Linked DNA regions of Homo sapiens: regions 2 and 3 are each linked to region 1. Evidence: promoter capture Hi-C in 16 types of primary human blood cells and fetal thymus (Javierre and others, 2016). All regions are on one chromosome and are shown on one strand. The core of a region is centred on a gene start or on the middle of the fragment in contact, and the rest is flanking DNA. Distances in the headings are between cores, read along the strand shown.

Evidence for each region. The method cuts DNA at HindIII sites, captures the fragments that hold promoters and counts their contacts. A CHiCAGO score of 5 or more calls a contact.
Region 2: a contact is called between a fragment that was not itself captured here and the fragment with the promoter of CD247 in region 1, in 1 of 17 cell types (fetal thymus). The highest score is 5.1, in fetal thymus.
Region 3: a fragment that was not itself captured here is called in contact with the fragment with the promoter of CD247 in region 1 in 8 of 17 cell types (activated CD4 T cells, total CD4 T cells, neutrophils and 5 more); the score reaches 7.2 in activated CD4 T cells.

What each region holds. Positions count from the first base shown.
Region 1 is chr1:167,516,320-167,521,234 of GRCh38, forward strand. It overlaps CD247 (CD247 molecule), which reads right to left and starts at 2,210. Exons shown (of 8, transcript NM_198053.3): 1 at 2,089-2,210. The coding sequence starts at 2,146. It also overlaps the pseudogene AKR1D1P1. RefSeq lists enhancers at 607-1,570, 842-2,041. The HindIII fragment of the contact is 3,961 bases long and covers 1-3,768 here.
Region 2 is chr1:167,712,755-167,717,583 of GRCh38, forward strand. It overlaps TRP-CGG1-1 (tRNA-Pro (anticodon CGG) 1-1), which reads left to right and starts at 1,971; the gene lies at 1,971-2,042. It overlaps TRP-AGG2-1 (tRNA-Pro (anticodon AGG) 2-1), which reads right to left and starts at 2,805; the gene lies at 2,734-2,805. RefSeq lists enhancers at 489-1,327, 822-981 and silencers at 1,452-1,691, 1,992-2,091. The HindIII fragment of the contact is 8,006 bases long and covers 1-4,829 here.
Region 3 is chr1:167,276,981-167,281,870 of GRCh38, forward strand. The region is part of intron 1 of POU2F1 (POU class 2 homeobox 1); the gene reads left to right. It overlaps LOC124900412 (a long non-coding RNA gene), which reads left to right. Exons shown (of 2, transcript XR_007066718.1): 2 at 1-4,890. Among named protein-coding and RNA genes, the nearest start is that of POU2F1, 59 kb to the left of the region's middle. The HindIII fragment of the contact is 3,600 bases long and covers 1-3,258 here.

The DNA.
Region 1 (4,915 bases), core at 960-3,459:
TGACTGTCTTGGTAGATTCTCTCTCAGGGAGGCCTCCTCATGTGGACAGACCAGGTCATCATTTGCTTTGATCCTAATAATCTGGGCATTTCCAAAGAAATGCAAATGCAACAGCTTAGTAAAAAGTAGACATTTTAAAAGGGATGTATGCAATGGGTCACTTAACTGAGCAAGAAAAGAGAGAAGACCTGACTGAAATTCTATGTGCGGCCTTTCCTCCGGGGAGACTGTGGAGGTGTCCCCTCAGGCAGCAAAAGCACCATCGCAGCCCTCGGTGTCAAGGCCTCTCTGAGTCGCGCTTTGCCTTACCGTACCTCGTTTCTGGGCTAGGATATTTTGAAACACTTTTGTCTATTAGCTTTATCTAAAATAGCTAAAATATCAGTCTCCATAGAGGCAAAGTAAGTGGCACTGAGAAGCAAAAAATCCAGCCAATGTGCAGTTTTCTCCTCCTGCCCCCTATTTGTGGAAATGAGGCACGGCCCCCATCTTGTCTGCTGGGTGGGGTTCTGTTTACCACGCTTGGCAGCCACCGCCACCCAACAATCTTTCATTTTTCTTTCTAACTTCACTTTGCCCCTACCTTGGTCTCTCCAAGCCGAACACAAATGGACCAGTGAGGAAACTGCAGGTAAAGACCCTGAAAGGTTATATGAGCTCCCTGGTGTGGTGTCTCAAGCCTGAAGCTCAGAGGCTGGAGCTATTGCCCCTGGCTGTCTCCCCTGAAGTCACTAAATTCCAGCGTTCTGGGTCCCCTTGTCCCCAGCACACAAGGATGGGCTGCTCTGAGCAAGCTCAGGCACCCTCACTCTGCCACACTGTGTGTGTGACTTAGACCCCACAAGGCTTTTCTGAGAAAACAGCTGTGACCTGACAGAAACCCCTGCAGCTGCACGGGCCTCAGAATCCCCCGAGGCGCTGGCCCGGGCTGTGCCTGGCTCCCTGGTGGGAGCAGAAGTGCCCATGGCCTCTCCTGCCCTCCCAACAGGGCCCCTAAACAAATTCCCACACCCAGGTGAGTTACCAGGAGCGATCAGGTGGGCCGAGGACATTTGCTTGCTTCACCTTCCCTGTTTCTTTAGATTGAAATTCAGCCTGCCCCACTTCTCAGGAAGATGCCACGAGGCTGATCCCCCTGAGCAGTTTGTCCTGTCCTCTTTTCACTGGTTTTCTTCCTCATTACCTGGGCTAGAAAACATGGTGGAAGCTAAAGGCTTGCAGCAAAGCTGGGCTCCCACGATCGGGAATGAGGTGAGGAGCAAGCACTCTTGTTGGCTGGGCGCTGCTCGTGGTGGTGACTTAACCAGGCACATCGTCTCATCTGCCCCGTGTTCTGTCAATGCCGGGCCCTCTGGCTGGGCTAGATGGCCGCCTAAGGGGCAGGCTGGGGTGAGTCACGGAGCCTGGGATGGTGCGTCACCCGGCAGTCCCAGGCGTGGGTGTGGGGACAGCCATGACAAGGCTGAGCCTAGACACGGACGCTTGGCCATGAGGTGGCGAAGGCGCTGTGGAGGCTGCCACCCGGTGCTTCCTGCCTGTGCCCCTCTCCTCCTTGGTTACCCCACTTACTCCCGGGCCCATTGGAGTGTTTCAGGCCATGACCTTGACTGACCAACAAAATCTTCTTTGTTGGCAAAGGAAGAAAGAAAGGGGCTGAGTGACGGAGCCAGCCAGAGGGTGAAAGAAGCTGAAGGGACTAGAACGTCGCAGCACGAAACATGGCCTGGCTGACATTTTCCGATCCTGTCCAGCTTCTGTGAAACACTCCCTCTCCGTTTCTCTACCCTGGGCCTGCCTCGGTTGCTCTCTTGCTTCCTTCTTCCTTCCTCTCTTATCACTCGAAAAATCTGTACCTGGAGGAGCTGTGTATTCTAGCAGCTGGCTCTGAACTGATGCCCAACTCGGCTGTGACGGAGCAGATGCCAGCACCGGGCCGGACCCCTCACTGCTCACTTGCCCATTGATTTGAGGAGGGCAGGATTTGAAGGAGACCCCAGCCCCTCACCACCCTCCACTACCCACACCCACTCCCCTACACATACACAAAGAGTTTCTAGAAGTTCCCTGCCGTCGACACGTCGGCCCTACCTGTAATCGGCAACTGTGCCTGCAGGATGGCCGCGGTGAAAAGCGCCTTCCACTTCATCTTGTCCTTTCCCTCAGAAAGAGGCTGGGAGGCAGAGGCTGAGGCAGCGGTGGCCGGGACGGTTAGGAGAAAAGGAGTCTCTGCTGGTTTTATTCTGCAGCTACCTCCCCAGGAAGTGGAGGACTGTGGGGCCTTTGAGAAAGCACCTGCCGACAGGGCCAAGAAATTCGCACTCCCCCTTTCGGTTCACAGGCAGGAAGCCCTGGAGGTTTGAGGGTTTGGGGTGTGTGTATGTATCTGTCTGTCTGAATTTTGCTTTTTCTCTCATTTGACCATTGTTTTAATGCTCCTTTTTTTAAAAAAAATAATTCTTATCTAATTCCTATCTTGATTGGTAAAGTCCATCTCTAGGCAAATACAAGTTCTCGATGGATGTAAGAACATTTGCTGTTTTCCTAGACTGTCAAATATTTTATGGTGGCTGGCAAAATGACAGAACCCTGGATTAGAGTCCAGGACAAATGTAGAGACAGATTCCTTGGGCTTTAGTGACATCTCTGCCTACCACCTACTTGCTGTGTGGCGTTGAGTCAGTCACTCAACATCTCTAGACTTCAGCTTCCTTATCTATAAAGCAAAGAGCTGGAGTAGATCTGAGGTTGCAGATCTGAACTTGGCCTGAATTTGGATCATTGTGTGAAATACTGTAGCTCACATAGTATTTTAAACACTTGTGTTAGTTGTCAACATTTAAACACCAGAGTAATTTACAATAATAAAACATTAAAACCTAGACATAAACTTCGTCTAAAAATTGTAATATATCTATATGAAACAAACTTTAAAACATTGCTGAAGAACGCCGAAAGGACTTGGGTAAATGGAAAGGCATACCCTTCTTTGATAGGAAGCTCTCTTTTAAGGAGACCACCATTCTCTCTTAATTAATCAATCTATTTCATTGAAAATACCAACAAAAAGTTTTAGAACAAGTTAAGCTGATTCCAAAATTGATATGAAAAAAATTAATGTACAAGAATAGCCAATAATCCAAAGTCACAGCAATCCAACATAAAATTGATAAATTGGACTTCATCACAATTAAAAGTTTTTGTGCATCAAAGGACACTATGAAGAAAGTGAGTCCTGCAAATCACCGCATACCTCTAAGTGATGGAAACAGCATTCCCATCATCAGACTTGGTACCTACTCAGAGCCTAAATTGACCCCTAAGGGGGCCGATGACTTACTCAAGGCCACACAGCAAGTAGGTGGTAGGTAGAGATGTCACTACAGCCCAAGTAGTCTGTCTCTACATTTAGTCTGAGTCTTCATCAGTGAAGGTTGTCATTGGTCTGGGGTGCTGACACACTGATGAAGCCTACATATACCAAAATGAAGACACAGCTGGGGAGGCCATCAGGGGGAAAATAGCAGAAGGAAAGGTGCAGAGGAAGGATATCTTCTACTGTGGAAAACTGTGGGCTACAAATCACAACCCAGAGCTGGTCTGCCCGAGCCTAGAGAGGATGCTCAAGGTCCTCCAGCTAGATTGTGTGGATCTTTACATCACTGAAATACCCATGGCCGCTAAGCCAGAAGACAAAATCTACCCTATAGGTGAGAATGGCAAATGGTTATATCACAAGTCAAATCTGTGTGCCACTTGGGAGACTTCGGAAGCTTGTAAAGATGCTGGCTTGGTGAAATCCCTCGGAGTATCCAGTTTTAACAGCAGGCCAGCTGGAGCTCATCCAGAACAACCCAGGACTCAAACCCAAGCCAGTCAGCAACGAGGTTGAGTGCCACCCATATTACACCCAACCAAAACTTTTGAAATTTCGCCAACAACATGACATTGTCATGATTGCATATAGCCCTTTGGGGACCACTAGGAATCCAACCTGGACAAATATGTCTTCTCTGCCTTCGTTAAAGGATGCACTTCTAAAAAGGTGCAATAAGATCACAGCTCAAGTTATTTTGCGTTTCAACATCCAGCAAGGGGTGGTTGTCATTCCTAAAAGCTTTAATCCTGAAAAGATCAAGGAAAACCTTCAGGCCTTTGACTTTTCTCTCACTGAATCAAGGACATTGAAGCCTGGAGTGAAAATGTCCGCTTCATAGAAATGCTCATGTGGTGTGATCATCCCAAATACCCATTTCTTGATGAATACTGACTTCAGAGAGTTCCTGAACAGATTCTCCCCTCCCACGTGTGGAGGACCTTAGGGTGCATAGTTCCCCATGGACACGGAAATGAAAGAGGTTTTATTATCTGAAAAGTGGTGATGGAAACATGCTTAACTTTTGTATAGTGTAAGTGATTTTAACTCACCCATGTTAAAGACAAAATGTTTAAATCTGTTGAAATTCTTAGGAAATTATCACCTAATATTTTATTAGATAAATGTCTTCTGGGTTCCAGACCAAAAACAAAACAAAACAAACAAACAAACAAAAAACAATTAGATTCCAGAAAAGACTTGAAAGGCAACAGATGACAACCAGCAACAAGTAACTCATGAATGTGGGTAGTAACATTGTTAGCCTGAGTTCTTTAGCAGTCAACAGGACAACAAAGACAGCAGAGGGCCCCCATGTGCCAGGGTGCTGGCAGTGGCCTTGAGGACTTGAACCATTGACTGCAATACAGACACAGCCAAGATAAGATCCAGACATGCATTATTAACAAAAAAGTGATTTGCTGCACCTTGAGTAGGGAGAGAGGGCTAAGTGTAGAAAAGTCTTAAAATAGAGTCAATTAAACACCACAGTGATCAACAAAGCCATAAGGATTTTATTGTTGTTTGTTTCTATCCGATGTA
Region 2 (4,829 bases), core at 1,768-4,267, 200 kb after region 1:
AAAACTCTCTCCCCAACCTTCCCCACCCTTGACCCATCCTCAAACTACCAAACAGTGTGTTAAAAGCAATATCTAGCCGGGCGCGGTGGCTCAACCCAACACTTTGGGAGGCCGAGAAAGGCGGATCACCTGAGATCGGGAGTTCGAGACCAGCCTGACCAACATGGAGAAACCCGTCTCTACTAAAAATACAAAATTAGCCAGGCGTGGTGGTGCATGCCTGTAATCCCAGCTACTCGGGAGGCTGAGGCAGAAGAATCACTTCAACCTGGGAGGCAGAGGTTGCGGTGAGCCGAGATCGCGCCATTGCACTCCAGCCTGGGCAACAAGAGCGACACTTCGTCTCAAAATAAAAAAGAAAAGAAAAGAAATTAAACAATATCCAGTTCTCACACCTTAGGTAAGTAGGAGGAAGAAAAGTGGTCTCAGACAAGGACAGGGTGTCAATAGTTTTACGCACTTCCAAACAAATAGAAGGCGTAGACAGGGCTGCCCACCTTAGACCTGGCCCCTGCACCAGCCAGCGACAGGGCTCTCTACATCGCCAGAGTGGGCTAAAGAAAGGTTTTTCAGTGCTCGCTGTTTGTTCTGAGGTGTCTTCACTGCATTTCCCGTTACACTCCCCACCGGCATGAACCCTGGTCCTGACCTCCTATCGCTAAGTGTCGTCCCAAAAGCTCACTGACATTAAAAGGAAGAGAGGAAGAGAGAGAGAAAAGAGCAGAGAAGCGGGTGCACGTGGGAAGCTCTCGGTTAGCAGGTGACAGGGCAAAAGCACCACCAGGACCTGGAAGAACGTCTGACCAGGCTACAGAGCAATGGATTTCTCTTACGCTGAACTGAAAGTAGCCTAAGAATGCAAGAGTGTTTTAGAAATAAGGGACGTCTGCAACTTGGCCACAGACTGCAAGGAGCCGGAGTGCAGAGTGGCGGGCTGGGGTCGTGAAGTGGGGGGAAGCGGTGAGAGCAGTCCGGAAAGCAGGCAAGACGAGCTAGACCCCAGGCCGGGAAACCACACCGGCGGGAGACCCCGCACTCGGACTCCCGCTCCTCTGAGCAGAAGAGCAGTAGGGCAGGCCCACATTTTCTGCTGGACGGGAGGGAGAAGACCCGGCCCACTGCCACTGCCCTCTCTTCTCCAAGCTACCGAGGTACCAATCTTCTCCCCAACTCTCCAGTCCCTTTCACACGCCCCAGCCCCCAGTTGTCCCACCCTCCAGGACCTCGGGAGTTCCTAGACCAGCGCCACCGCCAGCTCCTAGCCCAGTGGATTTATGTGAGCGACTTAACATCTCTGAGCCTCAGTTTCCTCATCTGCAAATGGAGATACAATGGCACCTAGGGGATTATTACGAATATCAGGTGAGTTCAATACAAGCAAAGGGCTTAAAAGAGTGCACTATCCCCAAATGAAGGTTCGGGGAGTTAACTTAATATTCACTCCTATGGGATTTCGTCTCCCACCACCCCTTTCTTAGCCAGGATTCGGGTATTCCCTTCCCTCGCTCGGACTCCCCGTCTTCATTCACCGACCCACTCGCGGAGCGAGCAGGCCCAGCTCTGCGTGCACTGACGGGCTGGGCGCGGGCGGGGCGCCGCCGGGACTTGGCACCGGGCTGCGTCCTGAGGCGCCCTGCCCCGCCCCGCACTTTCCTCAGCCCGGGCTCCCGGGCGCCCGCCAACACTGCGAGTGGAACAGCCGGGGCGAGCCCGTAAGCCGGAAGGCGGCTTCCGGGAGCGCGTGCGAACGTGGAGGCCACGCCGGCGATGGGGGGTTGGAACGGCCGGACCAGGCAAAAGCCGGTCCCTCCCTGCTCCTCCACGCTGTGGGGCAGTAAGCGCTCCGGACCCGAGGCTTAGGGAATCAGAGGACACGCAGTATAAGGGTCGCAGGTCGTGGTTGCTCGGAACACGAGGTGAGAGGCGGAACAAGGCTGAAGGGAAGCTCTGGGAGTGCCCTTGCCGAGAGCGGCTCGTTGGTCTAGGGGTATGATTCTCGCTTCGGGTGCGAGAGGTCCCGGGTTCAAATCCCGGACGAGCCCAGGCTTTTACCCACCCCACACCCGAAATTTAAAAACAGATTTTTTCCCCCTAATTCCCCACATATTCCATTCAGAAACTTAAATGAAAACATACTGGTCCCATGAGCTCGAATGTTGATCCCCTTTGTTTTTTGAAGCGAGGGACCATGTGAGCTCAATTAATACAACATATGGTTACTGTACGCCCAAAGGCAACGCATTCAAATTGCTTTGTACCATGTAAAACACACACTCTTGAAAAACAGACGCCTAGTGCGGAATCCTGTGCACGCCTTTAACTCCTCCAAACGAGCAGGGGGCGTCATGGATTAGCATGTCCCGGGGTTCGGGAATCAGCATTTCCGAGGAAAGGGGCGCTCAGGAGATATCCCCACCCCCGATGAGGGGCACTGTCGTGGATGAGTTTAAACCACGCCATAGGCAGCCAAGAACTGAGCTCCCGATGGCCCTGTACACGCGCTGCACCCAGGAATAGACAGCTAGGGACAATGTTTTCATAGTACAATACTACATTACTAGCAAACTTTTTACATTTTCAAAATGAGGCCTTTTAATGGTATTTCAATGTAGAGTGTGCTCTAAGTTTCCAAAAATCTCAATTTTGTGTTTTACTCTGACCAACCTGTATTTATTACGTTTAGTAATCTATCCCCAAAAAAACTCACCTTTAAGTGATTCTTACTCCAAAACAGGGCTCGTCCGGGATTTGAACCCGGGACCTCTCGCACCCTAAGCGAGAATCATACCCCTAGACCAACGAGCCGACACAAACTCCACCTTACTGTCATCAGAAAGGAACACATAGCTATTTAGTCCTGCGCCCTCAAGTGGTTGCTCGCATGTTAGGATTCGATCTTTGGGTTGTGTTTGCTTTCTATAGATACCGCGTTTTCAATTTTCTTTCTTTTCTGTTTTGCTCTTTGAAAATCAGTAACACAGAAGACAGCAAAATTGTCACTATCAGTATAATATCGACCTCTTATTTCGAAAATTGTAATTGTATTTCTATTCATGGCTAATAAATGGCTATTAGTGTGGGACAATGTCACTGTGGCAGATTCCAGACTCTCTCCGTTACTGAGTGAGTTCTGGATGTTTCATTCGTTCTTTTTCGCACTTTTCTATAATGTTAAAATCTCGGTTTCTTGCCGATATTTTTTATTGTAATATTCAAAGCCCTACCTATCTAGCCTTGTGAATTCCCATCTCTGTTTTTACTCGAAGTGTTCTCTTCAGCTGGAAAACCTGTTTGCTTTTGGACAAATCCCAAACTCTAACCTTCCCAGAAAAAGATCCTTTAACATATCAAAACCAATAGTATGTGGTAAATAACTGGGTTTCAGTCTTATCTCCTCCAACTGTAACTTCTTAGAGCGCAAGACACCTACACCAACACGAAATTCTACTGTAGAATTGGCAACCAATTGTGTGATTGCTGTTCGATTGTCCCAATATCTTTAATTAGATATAGTAAGCATGGCTTCTTAACTATATTTTAAATTCTTTTTCCTTTCTTTCTTTTTTTTTTTTTTTTTTTGAGACGTTGTCTCGCTTCGCTCTTTCGCCAGGCTGGAGAGAAGTGGTGTGATCTCGGCTCACTGCAACCTCCGCCCCCTCCGCCCTCCAGGTTCAAGCGATTCTCCGCCTCCCGAGTAGCTGGGATTACAGGCACCTGCCACCATGCCCAGCTAATTTTTGTATTTTTAGTAGAGGCGGGTTTCACCATGTTGGCCAGGCTGGTCTCCAACTCCTGACCTCAGTTGATCCACCCTCCTCGGCCTCCCAAAGTACAAGCGTGAGCCACTGCGCCCGGCCTAATTTCTTTTTTTTTTTTTTTTTTTTTTTTTTTTTTTTTTGAGACAGAGTCTAGCTCTGTCACCCAGGCTGGAGTGCAGTGGCGCGATCTCGGCTCACTGCAAGCTCCGCCTCCTGGGTTCATGCCATTCTCCTGCCTCAGCCACCCCAGTAGCTGGGACTACAGGCGCCCGCCACCACGCCTGGCTAATTTTTTTTGTATTTTAATAGAGTCGGGGTTTCACCGTGTTAGCTAAGATGGTCTCGATCTCCTGACCTCGTGATCCACCTGCCTCGGCCTGCCAAAGTGCTGGGATTACCACCGTGCCTGGCCCTAAATTCTTAAATACTTAGCATTGAGGCTTATCATAAGGAAGCTGGTGCTCAATGAATGATTCTGAATGATTACAATTTGTCTCAAATTCCTTAACAATACGAATTTTAGGTGTTTTTTGTTTGATACAGGGTCTCACTCTGTCGCCCGGGCTGGAGTGCAGTGGCATGATCATGGCTCACTGCATTTTAGTACTTTTGTTGCCGGAAAAAGGGGTCTTCACCGAACCTGGAGAGAGGGTTCTTGGATCTCGTGCAGGAAAGAATTCAGGGTGAAAGAAGCAAGTTTATTGGAAACTACTCTGTTACAGAGCAGGATGTTCTCAGAAAGTAGGAGGAGAAACACCCCGTTCTTAAGTTTTTCTTATATAGTGATCTTACCTATGTAAAAGCTAGGCTAAGCTGTGCCTACATACGGGTGAGCAGACAACATGACAAATTTTGTTACTCTGTTGATTTAAAGAAGACAATTATTGACATTTTAGTGTGTGAATACGTAAAAGCATAACTGTGATTATCTTAAAGGCATATATTGTTGTAGATATTAGGACATTTGGACTTCTTGCTGTTGTAGGAGTCAGTCCTAGTTATCTTCAGGCTGTTTCCTTAATTATAAACATCCCATGACTATGGGTCGTGGCAGGCAAGGAATGTGCCTTG
Region 3 (4,890 bases), core at 209-2,708, 240 kb before region 1:
CCAGTCTAAGCCATGGAATAGTTCACTATTCTGGGAAGTATTCTTAAGATCATCAGTGACCTTCAGGTCATGAAATCTAATAAGCATTCTTTCAGACCTGTTCTTATTTGACCTCTCAGTGGTGTTTGACACTCTCAACCACCAACTCTTTGTGAAACCTTTTTTTCCCTGAAAGCTGTGAGGTCGTGCTTTCTCGGTTCTCTTCTCATGTCTCTGGTAACTCCTGCTTTGTCTACTTTGGGTTTTTTGTTTTGTTTTGTTTTTTGTTTTTTAAGAGTTGGGATCTTGCTCTGCTGCCTAGGCTGGAGTGCAGTGGCGCAATCATAGCTCACTGCAACCTCACACTCCTGGGCTTAAGTGATCTACCTGCCTTGGCCTCCTAAGTAACTGTGTTCATTTGACACAGTTTAGGAACTAAAGATCAGGTAAAACCAGCCAGTTCCTGAGCTGGAATTGAATCTGTTCAGAATGTCTGGGAACTAACTCCATTTTTACGTGTCAACCATACCTGGCTAATTAAAAAAAAAAAAAAAAAATTGCCTAGGCCAGTCTTGAACTCCTGACCTCAAACGATCCTACCTCAGCCTTCCAAAGCCTCGGATTACAGGCATGAGCCACCTCACCCCAGCCACCTTTGTTGTCCAGAGATGTCAGATTTTGTGAAAGCTCAGTCCTAGGCTTCCATTTCTTTTCATTCTACGACCCAGCAATTATATCTATCCCAATGGCCTCAGTTACTACTCGCTGATGCCGCATGCCATCCTCTGGTGTCCCACATGTCAGTGAATAGCATCACCTTTTTTATTCCAGTTTTCCAAGTTAAAGACTTAGGAGTAATTCCTAATACCCCCTCTCCCTCACTTCCCAAATTCTTACTGTACTAAGGCCTGTCTATTTGACATCCTTTAATAATTTTCAAATCCATATTCTCTGCTGTCTTAGTCTGAGTAGGATTATCTCCCCCTTGCAGCACAATAGTAGCCCTCCATATCCTTGTTAAATTTGTTCTGTACACTGAAGCTAGGGTACTGTATCCTATGAAAACACAAATCCAGTCATGTCATTCTCCTCCATAGCATTATTTCCTGCTACTCTTAGGATAAAGACTAACATTCCCCAGGCCTACTTCTCCACCTCCCCTCTTATTTTTCAAACCCTCTGCACTTGAGCCACTGAGACTTTTGTTCAGATTCTCACAGGTACCATGCTCTGACCTTTTACTTCTCTGCTTAGTCAATTTCCATTTCATTCTTCACGTCTCAACACAAAGACTGTTTCTATAGAAAAAGTGATTATTGATATATGGTCTTGTAAGATTCTGTTCTTTTGCTTATAGCATTTATCATAATTTGTTATTATGTATCTCTGAGACTGAAAACTCCCAAGAGGGATGGGACCTTGTCTGCTTTACTCACTGCTGTATCTCCAGCACCTGGCACATGGTAGGGATTTCATAGATAATGGTTAAATGACTTGAGTTTGTCCTTTCTCTAGATCTAGGGTATTTGTCATTTGTCCATAAATTTTGCTTCAGGAAATTTTAGGGCTCAGCATAATCTGATTAGGCTTCAACGATGAAGATAATGTTACATTTATCATTCGACACAGTTTAGGAACTAAAGGTCAGGTAAAATCAGCTAATTCCTGAGCTGTGGAATTGAATCTGTTCAGATTGTCTGGGAACTTTATTTTTACCTGTCCTGACAAGTCTTCTAAAAAAAGATACGTTGACTTAGCTCACTTTTCAGCAAGCGTTTCAGTGCTTACAATACGCCAGACATTTTGCAAACTTTAATTGGCTATCCCCTTCATTTGTTTTTCTATTTTAATAGAATTTAATAAAATTCTATTTTAATAGAATTTATTTTAAATTTGGTTTTCAAGACCTATTTCACATGGGTACATATTTGTGTCTTTGAGTATGATTCTTTAAGTAAAACACTTTGCAAATAAAATGATCATCTGAAAGATATTTTTTCATTTGATTGTAATTAGTTAGGTAAATTAAGGGGAATACATAATTACACAGCTTAAAGATATTCAAATGCTATTGGAACAGGATTGGTGTCTCCATGTTCTTCCATTTCCTTCTATTCCCCCCTGATTATAATGGTACACAGTGCTTACAGCATACGCCTGATAATGTTAAATGAACACACATTATGTGTAGAATATGCAGAATCATGGGTAGTGGTATGTAACAAATGTTGTTAACTGATGAGATATAGCAAACGTGAATAAAAAAGGTTTAATTAACATGGATAAAGAAATTCAGTCTTTTGTTTTATAATGTAATGCAACTGACCTCTGCCCTGTGATGCAGACAAGAGCTGTTACAAGTTATCAAAAGTAAGTTTATGAAAAAGATCATTTTTCTTATTGATGTTGTGTCCCCCCATGACAGAACATGTAACAGAGTTAAGAGAATAATGTGTGACCTACCCTCGCAATCCAGATAAATATAGAAATTCTTGATAATTTAGTTATATGAGCTTGAGTAATATTTTAAAGGTGAGAAGAGTTATGACTTAGAACAGAGGAAAAATGTGATTCTTGGTAGAGGGAACTGCAGCTTAAATGTTCCAGAGGGGGCCGTGCATGGTGGCTCACACCTGTAATCCCAACTACTTGGGAGGCTGAGGTAGGAGAATTGCTTGAACCCTGGAGGCGGAGATTGCGGTGAGCTGAGATTGCACCACTGCACTCCAGCCTGGGCCTCAGAGCGAGACTCCATCTCAAAAAAAACCATATGTTCCAGAGGGAATAAATATTGATGGGAGTTGGGTGGGGACAGATGATGGATGGAACTTAAGTTCTGGAAGGGTTAGCAAGCAGGTTTACTTGTCTAGATTGAGAAAAAAGTGATTCATGGAAACTATGTTTGGAAACATAGGATAAGCACTCTGACTTGACAAAATGATTTGTATTTAAAACCATATTGTTGGCAGGGCATAGTGGCTCACTCCTGTAATCTCAGCACTTTGGGAGGTCGAGGTGGGCAGATCACCTGAGGTCGGGAGTTTGAGACCAGCCTGACCAACATGGTGAAACCCCGTTTTTACTGAAAATACAAAAATTAGCCAGGCGCCTGTAATCTCAGCTAGTCTGGAGGTTGAGGCAGGAGAATCGCTCGAACCCAGCAGGTGGAGGTTGCAGTGAGCTGAGATTGTGCACTCCAGCCTGGGCGACAGAGTGATACTCTGTCTCGGGGAAAAAAAAAAAAAACTTATTGTAAATGTGTGATATCAGAAATAATAAAGCTTTCCTCTCCAGATCTTATGAAAATAAAAGTGGACATGATATGTAGCAAATATGCTTGGTGTTTGAGCTTGATTTTTTTTTTTAAAGAGAGATTTTATTGCCATTACTGTTATGTAGGGTTTTTTTTTTTTTCAGACTTTTAGTTTTTATAGCTAGTCTATTCATTTGGAGAATGTGGAAAAATAACTCTGAACACTTCCCACTAGTGAACATGTTAGGCTCTCAATAAAACAGTTTCTATAGTCAGTCATCCTGTATCAGTGTCAGCCAGAATTACCTAAAGGTATGAACAGTATTATGACAGTTACCTTTAAAACGATAGGCAACACTGGGCTTTTACATGGCCCTTTGTGTCAAGATGTGTTACAGATCAGTTTTGCTTCCTTTGTTTTGAAATGATTTTGATTTAGCCTTTTGTGAACCTTTGACTTTTCTTCCCATTTCACTAAGATAACTTCTTTTGCATGGTCTTTGAATAGTCTCATTTTTTAAAAAGTCCTAAGCATAAAAAGTAAGATTTTCCTTCTTTCCAACCCTTTCTGTGAAATTATAATTGTGCTAAAGTATCAGCTTAGATTTCAAGCAGTCCTCATGCCAAAGGCGTTTATTAAGTGTTTATATGTTTGTTACTATGCTGTATTGTATCAATAAAGTAGGAACACACAGGAGTCACATCTATTAAGTGCTTTTAAAGTGCCTGGTAACACTAATGTAAATCATATTTTCAATGTCATTCATATAAATAGTGTCAAGTCCTGCCTGCCCCCTCTCCACCAAAGCTAAGTATCTTAAATGCTAAGTATCTTACAAGATTACATCCCCATAGGAAGAGGGTGGAGTGTTTAGTCTTCATTTGTGACTGGTTTAAATGAATAGATACAGTTCTCCAAAGGTCCATTTATAGACCGGTCTTAACTTAAAATGTACATAATGTATTTGGGTATTGACGAAAGAGTCAAACTCTGTAAAATATTTAAAGCGTCTTATTCTGAGCCAAATATGAGTAACCAAGACCTGTGATACAGCTCTAGGTGTGATAGAGTTAACTGGGTGACAACTGAAAAGTGAAATGAGGGTTGCCTGACATCTGAGAATCATTCTGGAGTGAGACAGTCTGTTAAGGAGTATTTGATCAGGAAGAAGGTAGTGATAAAAGAAAAACCTCGGCTGAATTAAATTTAAAAGAATTTAATTCAGCAACTGACGGTTTGCCAATCGGGCAGGCCTCCCAGCCATAGTAGGCTCAGAGACTCCAGTGCAGCCACATGATGGAAGAAGATTTATGGACAAAAAAAGGAAAGTGATGTATAGAAAATGGGAGTGAGGTACAGAAACAGCTGGATTGGTTACAGCTCAGCATTTGCCTCATTTGAACATGGTTCAAACAGTTGACTACATTTGATTGGCCAAAACTCGGTGATTGGCGTAGGTGTAGGCTACGGTCTGGTTACACCTCCACTTGTTATAGTTCACCATGTACAGAAAAACCTTTAGCCAAACTTAAAATACGTAATGAGGCAGCTTTAGGCTAAACTTGGTTTAACAGTAGAGACTTTTCCTTTTTGTTCCAGACTTGTAAATTCTGCTGTCTGTTGAACTTCTCTCAACGGTGCATCACATTAAACATAT